Regions from separate parts of the Homo sapiens genome. Here region 2 is linked to region 1. The links are contacts of gene promoters, found by promoter capture Hi-C in human tissues and cell types (Jung and others, 2019). All regions are on one chromosome and are shown on one strand. The core of a region is centred on a gene start or on the middle of the fragment in contact, and the rest is flanking DNA. Distances in the headings are between cores, read along the strand shown.

The links. Contacts are between HindIII fragments. The study calls those that stand out against the background at their distance.
Region 2: a fragment that was not itself captured here is called in contact with the fragment with the promoter of CHST6 in region 1 in 1 of the 25 tissues and cell types used here (H1 embryonic stem cells).

What each region holds. Positions count from the first base shown.
Region 1 is chr16:75,492,694-75,499,627 of GRCh38, forward strand. It overlaps CHST6 (carbohydrate sulfotransferase 6), which reads right to left and starts at 2,748. Exons shown (of 3, transcript NM_021615.5): 1 at 2,247-2,748. It also overlaps the pseudogene TMEM231P1. RefSeq lists an enhancer at 2,142-2,321 and a silencer at 2,622-2,951. The HindIII fragment of the contact is 2,567 bases long and covers 1,856-4,422 here.
Region 2 is chr16:75,638,649-75,645,632 of GRCh38, forward strand. It overlaps KARS1 (lysyl-tRNA synthetase 1), which reads right to left. Exons shown (of 14, transcript NM_005548.3): 2 at 2,916-3,075; 3 at 1,536-1,701. Among named protein-coding and RNA genes, the nearest start is that of KARS1, 5.5 kb to the right of the region's middle. The HindIII fragment of the contact is 6,726 bases long and covers 1-5,054 here.

The DNA of each region.
Region 1 (6,934 bases), core at 1,498-3,997:
ACAAAAAGTAGCCAGGTGTGGTGGCACGTGCTTGTAATCCTAGCTACCCAGGAGGCTGAGGCAGGAGAATCACTGGAGCCAGGAGTCCGAAGCTGCAGTGAGCTGAGATCACGCCACTGCACTCCAGTCTGGGCGACAGAGAGAGACTCCATCTCAAACAAAAACAAAAACAAAAACCAAAACCAAAAAACACATAGTCAAATGCAACATGTGGACCTTGTGTGGATTCTGATTTGAAAAAAACATCTGCCAGGAGATACCCTAGAGGTAATCAGATATATTTCAATATTGACTAATAGGTGATAGTGAGAAATTATTATTAATACTATTATCACTACCCAGAACAATCTTGTTCATGTATTTCTGGACCCATTTCCCCGCCCAAGACACTAGAAGCAGAATGGTGTCTGTCTCATTAAAGACAGTAGGTATAGAGCACTGAGGTTAAGAGTGTGAATCCCACTTGACCATTTACTGAGCGATCTTGTGCAAGTTACTTCCTTCTGTGCCTGCTTGGTTAAAAAAAAATCTGGAAGGTCAGGTGCGGTGGCTCACACCTGTAATCCCAGCACTTTGCGAGGCTGAGGAGGGCGGATCACGAGGTCAGGAGTTTGAGACCAGCCTGACCAACATAGTGAAACCCCATCTTTACTAAAAATACAAAAATTAGCCGGGCGTGGTGGCGGGTGCCTGTAATCCCAGCTACTCAGGAATTTGAGGCAGGAGAATCGCTTGAACCTGGGATGCGGAGAGGTTGCAGTGAGCCGAGATTATGTCACTTTCACTGCACTCCAGCCTCGGTGACAGAGCGAGACTCCGTATCAAAAAAAAAAAAAAAAATCTGTAAAGTGGGGGAAACAATATAACCCAACTCATGGGCTTGATTGAAAGAGTGAGTGAGTGGATATTTGTAAAGCAGAACAAAGTCTGGCGCATAGTGCACTTATGAGTATTTGCTTAGCAATCTTCCTTCCTGGGCCACACTTATATTCTATGAATCCAAGGGAAAGTCTTTGAATGAGGAAAACCCAAGGACAATGGCTCTACCAGATTCAGGTGCCCCAGTGCCCCAGCAACAGAATGTGGCAGGCACAGACAGGGTCCCCACAAGGGCAAACAAAACAGAAGACGCTGGAAAGTCATGGCTAGAGGCCTGGCTTGTGTTTTTTCTGAGATGGAGTCTCGCTGTTGTCCAGACTGGAGTGAAGTACCGCAATCTCAGCTCACTGCAACCTCCGCCTCCTGGGTTCAAGTGATTCTTCTGCCTCAGCCTCCCAAGTAGCTGGGATTACAGGCACTCACCACCATGCCCAGCTTATTTTTGTATTTTTAGTAGAGATGGGGTTTCACCATGTTGGCCAGGCTGGTCTTGAACTCCTGACCTCAGGTGATCCACCTGCCTCGGCCTCCCAAAGTGCTGGGATTACAGGCGTGAACCACTGCGACTGGCCTTAGAAGCTTGGCTTCTGAAGCCGGATTGGGTTCAAATCCTGTCTCTACTACCAGTGAGGGGTGTGACTTAGAGCAAGTCACTCTCTGGCTCTCTATACTCCAGTTGACTCTGTTTGTAGAACAAAGCCAGAAAAGTTCCGGCCTCTCAGGCTGGAGAGGAGCCCAGCCCCAGCTCCCGGAGCAGCATAGCACCCTCAGAGGCCCTGGTACTTGGCCTACTCGCTTGTGGGTTTAAGTCAGCCAACTCCTTTCTGCTCTTCAGGCCTCAGTTTTCCCATCCTCAAAAATGGGAAACTTGACTGCCTTGCCTCTGTGAAAAAGGGAGGAGAAAGGAAAGTCAACATTTGCTAGGCACCTGTCCTGAGGCCCAGAGGGCCTGTCCTGAAGCCCAAGATGAAGCCGTCAGAAGCAGTGACGCAGGACTCCAATTCCCCTGGGTCTGGTTCCAAATCAACCCGCCAAGCTACCGTCTCTCAATAATTCTATGGAAAAAGCCCTTGGAGAGCTTTTGAAAGTCATGTCCTTTGAAACTCAAGTATCGAGACAAAAGGGGTTCTCCCCTCGCAGTGAGGATTCTCCTGCGCAGCCGAAGCCCCAGCAAGACACTTCCAAACCGGCGCCAACAGCGGCGATGCCCTTTCCACGTTGCTGATGGAAAAGCCACTCCCAGCTCTTCCCGCCACCCCAGGTCCCCGGTGCAGGACAGAGGAGCGTCCCCAGCTGTGCCACCAGCCCGGCCCCCAGCCGACCCGAGTGTGGGGACATCCCCCGCGGAGAATGAAGAACCAACGTACCCCAAAGCTTGGCGGCTCTGCCCGAGCTGCAGCGGCACGGTGGGGGACGCCTCTCTCCCTGGACTCAGCAAAGGCTCCCAAACGTCGTCTCTTCCAAATTCCACCGCACAGCCAGCTCTTTCTCTTCACTGGGAGGGTCCGCAGGGGCTGACTTGCTCCTTAAGGTCCCAAGACTATTAAGCGACACCCGGTGAGGCCGGGAAAGGGGCTCTAAGAGGCATGGACGAGAGTTGGCGGTGACCAAGCCACTGGAAGCTCCTGGAGACTCGAGGTAGAACGAATGTGGGAACAGGGCAGGAGTCCCAGAATGGGATGTTGAGGCTGGGGGTGTCCTGGGGCTACCACAGGGAAGGACCCGGCGCAGAGCTCCCTCTGGAACCCGGCACTGCGGCCCGCGCCCTCTACTCCCCGCGCGCCGGCCGGCAACCCTCGGCGCTGCCCGGTGCAGCCCGCCCGAGCGCACACAATGAGGCGCTTTCAGACGTGGCTGCGGTCCCGAGGTGGCCAGCGGGAGCTAGCGCCGTGGGGGAAGGAAGGAGCCGGTTGGCCCACCCCCGACCGAGGGGCCACGCCTCGGGGGAGGGGCGCCGGCCGAGGGCGGGGCAGGAGGGCCCAGGTGGGCTGGGGCTCTGAGAGGCTCAACTTTTAGCCCAGAATGTCAAAGGGCGCTGGCAGAGTCACCTCTCATCTGACTACAGAGGAACGTTGTACCCCACCCCACCCCAAATCCCCAGAGAAGGGGGGCTCCTGGGAGGACAAAGGCCCTAGTGAAGGAAGTCGAATCTTAATCTTGACCCTCCTCACTCTCGGGGGCATCCTTGCGGCGAGGTGACTTGGAATCCAAACCCTTCCCAAGGCCACGGCACCTGGATGACACATGGACCCGGTGCAGTGTCCCAACTGGGAAGAGCGGAGAGACCAGGTGGCCTTAGGAGCTGGGTCCGCAGCTTTTCCCCTCCTCCTGCGCATTCCCTGCCCTAGCCTAGGCCCAGAGGCGCAGGTTCATAGCAGGTCCAGATAAAGACATGATACGTTTCAATAAATAAGATATTTCCGGCCAGGGCTGGGCGCGGTGGCTCACGCCTGTAATCCCAGCACTTTGGGAGGCCGAGGCGGGCGGATCACGAGGTCAGGAGATCGAAATCATCCTGGCTAACACAGTGAAACCCCGTCTCTACTAAAAATACAAAAAAATTAGCCAGGCCTGGTGGCGGGCACCTGTAGTCCCAGCTACTCGGGAGGCTGAGGCAGGAGAATGGCGTGAACCCGGGAGGCGGAGCTTGCAGTGAGCCGAGATCGCACCACTGCACTCCAGCCTGGGCGACAAAGCGAGACTCCCTCGCAAAAAAAAAAAAAAAAAATCCGGCCAGGCGCGGTGTCTCACGCCTGTAATCCCAGCACTTTGGGGGGCCGTAGTGGGTGGATCACGAGGTCAGGAGTTCGAGACCAGCCTGGCCAACAGGGTGAAACCCCGTCTCTACTAAAAATACAAAAATTAGCCGGGCGTGGTGGCAGGCACCTGTAATCCTAGCTACTCAGGAGGCTAAGGCAGGAGAACTGCTTGAGCCCAGGAAGCGGAGGTTGCAGTGAGCTGAGATTGCACCACTGCACTCCAGCCTGGGCGACAGAGCGAAACTGTTTCAAAAAAAAAAAAAAAAAAAATCCCCTTTACAAATAACAGGGCAGAGCCCAGGCACCTGAAAAGGATGAAGCATTTCTAGGTCTTGTCAAATTAGTGATGGGATCTTAATCAAGAACTCCCTGCTGCTGGGAGAAGAAATAAGCAGTCCTTCCTGGTTGTGGTTTGGCAAGATGAATTAAGATTCTTGACAATGGTCGTAAGCTTTTCGGATTGGTAATTCCTTTCTAGGAGCTATCTTAAGGAAATAAACCAGAAACAAGGATTTATGTACAGGGTTCATATAAGTGTTGTTCATGATTTTGATACTGATTTTTTTTTCAGATGGAGTCTCACTTTTGTAGCCCAGGCTGGAGTGCAATGGCAGGATCTAGGCTCACTGCAACCTCCGCCTCTCGAGTTCAAGTGATTCTCTTGCCTCAGCCTCCTGAATAGCTGGGATTACAGGTGCCCACCACCACGCCAGGCTAATTTTTGTACTTTTAGTAGAGACAGGGTTTCACCATGTTGTCCAGGCTGGTCTCGAACTCCTGAGCTCAGATGTGATCTGCCCGCCTCTGTCTCCCAAAGTGCTCGGATTACAGGCATGAGCCACCGTGCCCGGCCTGTTCATGATTTTTAAAAAGTTAGAAATAGTGTATGGGATAGAAAGATGTGTGCCAGAAGGCCAACCATAACTCTGGGTAGGGGATTGGCCGGCAATCATTATTTTCCTTAGGATCATGTAATTTACATTTCCTTAATCAGTATTTAGAAGTTATCTGGCCAGAAAGCTCCAAAACCTCTTTACAAAGCATGAATAAGGAGAGGGGGCAAGGATGTGGAGGATAAGGTAAGAGGGACGCAAAGAGAGAGAATTGCTTTAATAAGCTTCAAGATGGGCACTCAGTGGGGCATTAGACACCTCACCTGCTTTGGCAGAAACTGGACTAATCATTTGGAAGAATTAGAGATTTCTCTCCCACAAAACAAATTCAATAATTATCTCAAATATGACTTATCTATGGCTTCAGCTCAGTTGATAAAATCCTGTGTATTTCTTACCTTTCTTCCTCCTGCAACTATGCTGTGTGGTTCAGTTTCAGAAACTACCAATAAATGATCCGTAAATAATTTGATATTCACCAGACACAGTTGTAATTTTCCAACCCGCAGCTCCCATATGCCATGTGGATTCCACTAAAAACTAATATACTTGGGGTTGGACCAGGAAACTTTTGCCAAAGAGCTAACAAAAGCTCCAAGGTCTTTGGGCAGAGCCGTGGCAAAGCAAGGCTACTGGTGAGTAACTCGGAGAAGTGTGCTCAACTTCAGCCCTCCCTATTCTTCCTCCCTCCAAAGCCTTGCTTCAAAAATAGCTAATACAACCTTCCATGTTGAACATTTTAATTAGAAAGCTACAGAACATAATGGATTCTTTATACAAGTTTTGCATTCAAATAATTTAATAAAATGCAAACCAAAGTTTATACGTATCTTTAGCCATCTTCCCATGTTTCATTAAATTCTGGGGATTTAAACCACAAGCAATTTTTCATTTCAGTCTCAAGAGACGGGGCACACTGGCCCATGCCTATATTCCTGGCACTTTGTGGGGCTGAGACAGGAGGATTTCCTGAGGTTGGGAGTTCAAGACCAGCCTGGGCAACATAGTGAAAACCCCATCTATAAAAATAAATAAATCTCAAGAAAAAAATTTAGGCATCTAAAATAGCCAGAATATTAAAAAAAGACAAGGGGGACAGTGTTAGAGAATTCCTCTGCTTGAATACTTCAAAATAGCTTTGTTTCCAAAACTGTTTTTAGTCAGCCTAAAGGAAACGGATGCTGGAGATGAAAAATGATCTCCAAGGTAAACTGAGGCACACACTGAGGGGTGTGTTTCTGGGTGGGCATGAAGCATGGATCACCGGAGCCATGTCCTTCCAGGGGCAACGACCTGCTTGGGATCAGGAAGCAGCTCCATGTGTTCTTGGAGGAGACTGCACGCATCCTCAGGAGGTGAATCGGCTGAACAAGCCATCTTCCGTGTGCAGAGGCCCCTTCCAGCCATCTCTGCTCCTGCAGACACTTGCTTAGCCACGAGGATAATCCACTGGACTGCTTGGTATTCTGCTAGTGGCCAGGCTGGACTGGCCTGCCCAGGCCAGCATCCTCTTTACACCCTCACTGCTTCTTGTGTCCTTCCCAAAGCTGCCCGCCCCACTCTGATGGGCACCCTTTTCCTTAGTCAAGGGAAACGCCAGCCGCTGGGCTTCCCGCTAGCCTTCCAAATAAACTTGTGGTTGTCAGGCAGCGGGAGCCAATCCCAACACCAACCCCTGTCGCCCCTGTCCTTTGCAGGAAGGGGGAGGGCTGTCAAGGAGGAGGAGGGCCAAGTGCCCAGGCTGTTGGGTGAGGGCCAGAAAGAACCTGTTGTGACAATGCTTTCTTCCCCCAGTGCTGCTGAGGGGGCTGAGAATGAAACAGCCCCTCTGACTTCAGCCTGCCATCCAGGGGCACAGACAGAGGGAAAAACCGGGCAAAGAGCCAGCCACAGTCGGGCAGGGATCCAGGGCTGCTCAGCTGAGCTGATGACAGATGACTGACTGTTGGGCTGGGGCAGGTGGACGGTCCAAGTGTCCTTCAGCGGCCCTCCCTGATTGCCTGTGCTAATGCGGCCCTTGCCCTTGGGCCCTGCCCCTCCAGGTCTCCAGTTAAAGGCCTCAGCTCTGGAAATCAAAGCTGTGAATGGGAAATGGAGAAGCCCAGGGGTGCAAAGTGCTAGTGATTGGCATGTTTGTCACAAGAGAGCCCTGAAAAGAGTAAGAGTGGCTCACAACAGAAGGAAGAAATGCACAGTGTGTTCCTCAGTTCAACAGAGGAAAAGTCTCTGCTTGACCAGAGATGGGACTCTTTCCAAGATGTCTGAACTGACTGCAATTTTCTCCTGAAATTCAACGCTAAGGCAAAGAAGAAAAACCCAAAAAGCTAATTATAGCCTCCAGGAACTCTCAGACCTTTCCACAAACTAGTCCCTGACAATTCTGCAGGAGCTCTGAAGATACGG
Region 2 (6,984 bases), core at 442-2,941, 140 kb after region 1:
GACTAAGCTATAAGGAAATAATAGTGACTAAATACAACAAATAATGCCTTAAGAGAAACAGAAAGTGAAAAGGAGGATAAAATTTAAAAATCAAAGTATAAAGAAAGATAAAAAGGATTTGAGATAAAGTGACAATTATCGAAAAGAATCAAGATGATCCAGTATGCAGATAAAAGTCCCAAAGGAAATGTAAAGCAAGAAACAGAATAAAAACAAACAATTAAAATAAAAAAGATCTGCTGGGAGCAGCGGCTCATGCCTGTAATCCCAGCACTTTGGAAGGCCGTGGCAGGTGGATCACCTGAGGTCAGGAGTTCAAGACCAGCCTGGCCAACATGGTGAAACTCCGTCTCTACTAAAGATACAAAAATTAGCTGGGCGTGGTGGCAGGCGCCTGTAATCCCAGCTACTGGGGAGGCTGAGGCAGGAGAATCGCTTGAACCCGGAAGGCGGAGGTTGCAGTGAGCCGAGATTGCGCCATTGCACTACAGCCTGGGGGACAAGAGCAAGACTTCGCCTCAAAAAAATAAAAATAAAAAAATAAAAAAAAATCTGAATACACAGATGTGAAAAGATCTCAGAGCACACTGTGTATCTGAGAATACTGAACTAGAATAACTAACATCAATAAATATTTTAGTGGCAGGGTGTGGCGGCTCACGCCTGTAATCCCAGCACTTTGGGAAGCCGAGGCAGGTGGATCACCTGAGGTCAGGAGTTCGAGACCAGCCTGGTCAATATGGCGAAGCCCCATCTCTACTAAAAATACAAAACTTAGCCGGGCGTGGTGGCAGGTGCCTGTAATCCCAGGTACTCGGGAGGCTGAGGCAAGAGAATTGCTTGAACCTGGGGGGCAGAGGTTGCAGTAAGCTGAGATGGCACCACTGCATTCCAGCCTGGGAGACAGAGTGAGACTATATCTCAAAAAAAAAAAAAAAAAAAAAGATTTTAGTAAAATCACTGCACTTTAAAGAAGAAATCTTTTGGGCATTTAGGTCCTGCCAGAAATTCTCTCTGGGTGGTAGGATTATGCGTAATCAAAACCTTCTCTCTGTGCTTCTTTGACTATTCTAAATTTTCTACAACTGATAGTTTTACTATTTGGTGGGAGAGGGCAAGGAAAAGATGTGATTTTTTTTTTTTGTTTTTTAAATTTAGGAAAAGAAGATCTCACCCAAGATACTACAACTCCAAAAGAGCAATGTTCTAGAAATACTGTCTCAGTGCAAAGCATTCTTAGGCCAAAGACTGGAATTCTTAGAAGCCTGAGACTTCTACCGCTGATTCTTGCTGATGAAGGGAATCCTTATAGAGAAAGCCCCTCTCTTTGTAGCACTACCTCATCTGGAATATGATTCCATGTCTCAGGGCTGCTCTGCTTCTTTCTGTATAGATATAATGGCACTGTCCTTAGTAAAGTAGCTTCAGACACAGGCTACTTGAGAACAAGACCAACCCAGACCTTCCCTTGTGCTACTGAAGCCGCAGGCCTACCTGCTGTGGGAGTTCAGTGATTTGCCAGGGAGAGTTCCTACCTGCCACCTTTAAGGTGATGTCAGTCAGGTGATCCCCAGGCTGCAGGTGACTATATTTTTGGATGAAGTCAGTGAGTGAGATGTCTACATGGAACTTGTGTGGGTATGGGTCTTCCCCATTGACCTTCAGCTGATGAATTGCTTGACTGCGGATTTTGTAGTATTGCTGTTAAAAAAAAAAAAAAAAAAGCCCTTCAGAAGTTGAACCTGGTCAGACCAGTGGGGCCCACCTAGCAGAGGGCAGTATTCTGCCCCCGAGTGACCCCAATACATTGTTTTCTTTAACCAAGACCTCTGCATTACAGGATTGAATATGGAGTGAGATTTGCACTTAAAATATGCAGGGCGGCCAGAGGCCAGCATTTCAAAATGCAAGAGTCAACAAAAAGAAAAACCTGAGTTCTGCCTAAAATCATAAAAGTTTAATTTTTAATTGGTACAGGTGGCCTTGTTGTCACTTTTGTAGACCACATTTGCATGGTGAGTCGAGTCACTTACGTTCTTAACTGCTTATGTTCTTAACTACTCTCCTACCTCTGGCGACACATCAGACTTTTCCCCAAGGCATGGGGCCTGGAGAATGTAAACAAGGAATACTCTACAGCAGCCTTTCTCACAAAGCTTTTCTGATGCAACTTCTCAACTCTGCTGTTTCAGGGGGAAAGCAGCCTCAGAAATACGTAAACAAATGAGCACAGCTGTGTTCCAATACAATTTTACTAGTAAAACCAAGGAGGGGCAAGGTGTGGTGGCTCATGCCTGTAATCCTAGTACTCTGGGAGCCCGAGGCGGGTGGATCACTTGAGGCCAGGAGTTCAAGACCAGCCTGGCCAACATTAACAGGGTGTAGTGGTGTGCGCCTCTAATACCAGTTACTTGGGAGGCTGAGGAAGGAGAATCACTTGAACCGGGGAGGCGGAGGTTGCAGTGAGATCACACCACTGCACTCCAGCCTGGGTGACAGAATGAGACTTTGCCTCAAAAAAACAAAAACAAAAACAAAAAACCAGGGAGGGAAGGATAAAGTGGGGGCATGGAGAGTGGGTTTGGCTGGTGGACTGTAGTTGGCCAGCCCCTGGTCTAAAGTAAACCTCAGGCAATCTTTAGAGAGACACTTTCCCTGGGGCCTCAAGGTCAAGCTAATTCCAAGGAAGGTTAATTCACTTGAATGCTGGACTCTCTCAAATGCCTTTTGGGGGTTGACATAAAAAACACTCAGGGTCTGTGCCTTTAACCAGATGCAGTGGGAGACCCTCCCTTATCCCTGGCAGTGACCTCAGGCGTACTGGTCCCTCCTACTGTCCAGTCCCAAAGAATCTGCCAGAAGCCTCATCAGAAGCTTTCCTGTGCCCAACCATGCTGGTGGCCCAGGGAACTCACATTTGGGTCCACGCTCTCTTCCTCAGGACCCACACCATTATCAGTGGTGTGGTTGGTGGCAGCAGCAGTGGCTTGGCTTAGCTGTTTCTCACTGAGCTCTTTCTGTTTGGCCTCCTTCTCTGCTACTTTCTTCTCAGCTTTCAGGCGTCTCTTCAGCTCACTGTTGGAAAGATGAAAGCGTTCAATGTGTTAGCTGCCTGAAGAGTCCTCTATGTTCTGCCCCTAGCAACTTATCAAAAACATGAATCGCCCAGGAGAAACGCTCTTGCTCAGTTCTATACCCCTCAATTCCACACCCACAGCTCAGCTCAAGTAGCTTGTCACTAAACTCTTTATGTGAAAGACACAAAGGGAAAAATAAGCTTAGAACAAAGATGTGAAAAATCACTCTCAGTCTCTGCTTGCCAGTCTCAGGTCCTTGGCATTAGGTCCCAACTAAAACCAAGATGTACCAAGACAAAGAAAATCCTATGCATTAGTTTTGAATAGGAGAAAAGGTTTTCTAGAAAATTAGAATAGGCTTTTCTTGAGCTAATTAGGTTAGGGAGCTCCTTGAGGACAGTGACTGAATCTTAGTTGTTTAGTATCCCCCTAGAAGGTGAAGTTCCAACAGTGCCAGGTCTTTTTTTTTTTTTTTTTTTTTTTTTTTTTTTTTTATGAGACAGAGTTTTGCTCTGTGGCCCAGGCTGGAGTGCAGTCACAATCTCAGCTTACTGCAATCTCTGCCTCCCGGGTTTCAAGAGATTCTCGTGCCTCAGCCTCCTGAGTAGCTGGGATTACAGGTGTGTACCACCACAGTCAACTAATTTATGTATTTTTAGTGAGACGAGGTTTCACCACGTTGGCCAGACTGGTCTCAAACTCCTTTCCTCAAGTGATCTGCCCACCTTGGCCTCCCAAAGTGCTAGGATTACAGGTGTGAGCCACCTGACCCCTCCAATGCCAGATCTAATACATGATAAGGCAACATCTCCAGCCCTCTGCTACCCCCTCTCTCTATCCCTCCCCTAAGAGTGAGTTAGGATGATAGTAAGGAAGAGCCGGCTCTTTAGCACTCAAGGAGACCTCCCCTACCAACAGTCTCTCCAAGAATGGCTGTCAGCATTAGTCTCACTTTGCCCACTGGAGCCTGACTTAGACAACAAAATAGAACGGTGTGCAAAGCAGTATAGTACAGGGGGTAATATACCATCTTTGTAGTCAGGCTGCCTGGGACTAAATTCCAACACACTTGTCAATTATGTGACTTGGACGAGTGAATTAACTTCTCACCTGTGAAACGAAAATAATAATAGACAACCCCCACCAGTTGTTATGGTGTGTAATGAGATAATGTTTGTATAAAGGGATTACCCTGACCCTGGCATTCAGCTAACCAAATGTGAGCTTTCTAGGTATCTTTTAGTATCTTAACCCTTTACTCTCTGTGCCTCATATAGATTTAAATACATTTCTGGTTAAATCACTTGGTATCCAAACTCTTGATACTTATCACTTGAACCTGAAAAACCAAAGTAATGCGGACAACTCTGAGCTGTTCTGTATGATATGTTCATGTCTCTTATAGTCTGAATTTGCTATCTGAAACCAGAAACTAAACAGATTGGTGTAGGGAGGGATATCTTTACTATTCAAAGACAATTTATGGATCATTCTTTCAAACCGCTGAACATAATCAAATATTCTGCAATAGTGAACCACAGCAGAAGATCCCAAGTCATGCCCGCAAACATTCTGGCTTCAGGACACATCCTTCATTTTCGATATGAATTTAGAATAACTTTAAAAAATGAATTGAGGTTTTGAATCTTTCACCTTTTTTTTTTTTTTTTGAGACAGAGTCTCGCTGTGTTGCCCAGGCTGGAGTGCAGTGGTGCGATCTCAGATCACTGTAAGCTCTGCCTCCCGGGTTCACACCATTTTCCTGCCTCAGCCTCCGGAGTAGCTGGGACTACAGGTGCCCGCCACCATGCCCGGCTAATTTTTTTGGTATTTTTAGTGAAGATGGGGTTTCACCGTGTTAGCCAGGATGGTCTTGATCTCCTGACCTCGTGATCTGCCTGTCTTGGCCTCCCAAAGTGCTGGGATTACAGGCGTGAGCCACCACGCCTGGCCGAATCTTTCATCTTGTAAAAAAGAAAAACAGATTCTGAATGGTTTCAAAGTTGACAGCTTTTTCTACATATAATGTCTTATAACATTTGTAAAGACAACCTTTCCAAAACACTGTGCTGGTGTTATCATGCTATAATTCAGTCAGTGGACTGCTAAGATTAGGCTGTCTAGTTCTTCTAGAATTAAGATAAATCTGTTTTCCACTCAACCAGGTGCTCCTCTTAAATCAAATCAATCTTAAGGATAATCCAAAAAGGTCCTAGGGATAGCACTAAGACTAGAAACCAAATTAATCTCAAGAGCACACAAAACTCCAGAAAGACAGAAAAGGGAAATAGCTGGCATTAGAAATTATTTGTTCAAACAAAGGTTTTGTTCTTAGCACTCTTCTAGAATAAGATCCACATGTCATCTCAAGACTCTAAGGAGAGACGATTTGAATTTATTAAAGAGAAAATGAGAAAGGACTATTGGTTTTGGTATTAGGGCTCCTTGTTTCCTTAGCAACAAGTCCAAAGACTTAGCCAGAGGCTTAACGGAAAATGAACCAAGTAAGGAAATAATTTTTGCTTCCAGAGCAATAAAGAAGGTAATGGGCACCAACCTTCTTTGATCAGAAAATGACTTGTCCTTGTGAGGCGCTGTGAAAGGAGCAAGTTGACCCAGTCGCAGTTCCCTGTGACCCCACTCTGCCCAGGAGGTTTTGCGCAGGGACCCCCTAACAAGCCTTACAGCAGCTTGCGTCAACATGGCAGAGCACCCTGGAACTAATGATTACCACCACCTAGCGGGAAACACAGAGATGTGGTGTCAGATGGGACAGACAGTATACATATACCCAACCAACTCTCTTATGGGTTGGGGAGGGGGACCATGCTTCTACTACCTTTTAGTCCCATTTAACTTAAGACTGTCTTAACTGATAGCAACCCTGTAACACTCTCTGTGCTACAACTGTAACTGACAATGTTCTTAGTCCTGACTATGGAAAAAACATGCATATCTGGGGTAAAGCCAACAGCAAGTTAATGGATAGCTTACAGGTAAAATTGCTCACAACATCCTAGAATATGGGAACAGGATGTGAGGCACTTTCTGAAGCCCTGAAGTGTGGTTTCTCACCTGGAGAGGAAATACCTGGCCACAAGATGGCAATAGGAAGCATATAAAATAAGAGGAAACTGTCACTATCAATTGCAAACTCTAGACAAAGATAAATGCAAGCCACACAAAAATACGTGTCAAAGAGAAGACTTGTTTGGAACTCTAGGAACAAGGGGAAAGGAGAATTTCAGGAAGGTCCTTAGACTGCGTTATGTTTATACATTATCAACACTGGAAGGCAACAGAATTACAGAGATCACCTTCTTTACCGTGTTCAAATAAATTTGAGGAGGCTATTTCACTCGGGCAGGGAGCACATCTGCTTTTAAACTTGGAGTCAATACCTGGCACAAAATGGTGCTTACTAAAAATTTCAGACCAAGGAATTCCCCAGAACAATAAACGGAAGGAAATGTTAATCAGAAAAAAATTATTTTAGCTCATGGTAACGAGAGGAATAGACATCAATGACAGGTAAGACAACGTGAGTAGTGCTGTGCAGTCAGGATACAGAGCATGGACTGTGGAGTCACAGGCCTGAGTTCAGATCCGTGCTCCAGTGCTCTGGATCACTGCTAGACTATATTTTAGGAATGCACACTTTAATAGTGCATTTAATTACTAGGACCTCAGTTTATTAATTTGAAAAATGGACAATAACTCCTCTTGCAAGGTTATTACTGACACTAGACAGAAAGCTTGTAGAGATCTAGCATTGTGCCTGGCACAGAAAAGCTGGTCAAAAAAGTAGTAGCTGTATTTAATTTTAGAAAAGTCAGTGAAGCAGGGAGTGGTGGCTCACGCCTATAATCCTAGCGCTTTGTGGGGTTGAGGCGGACGGATCACCTGA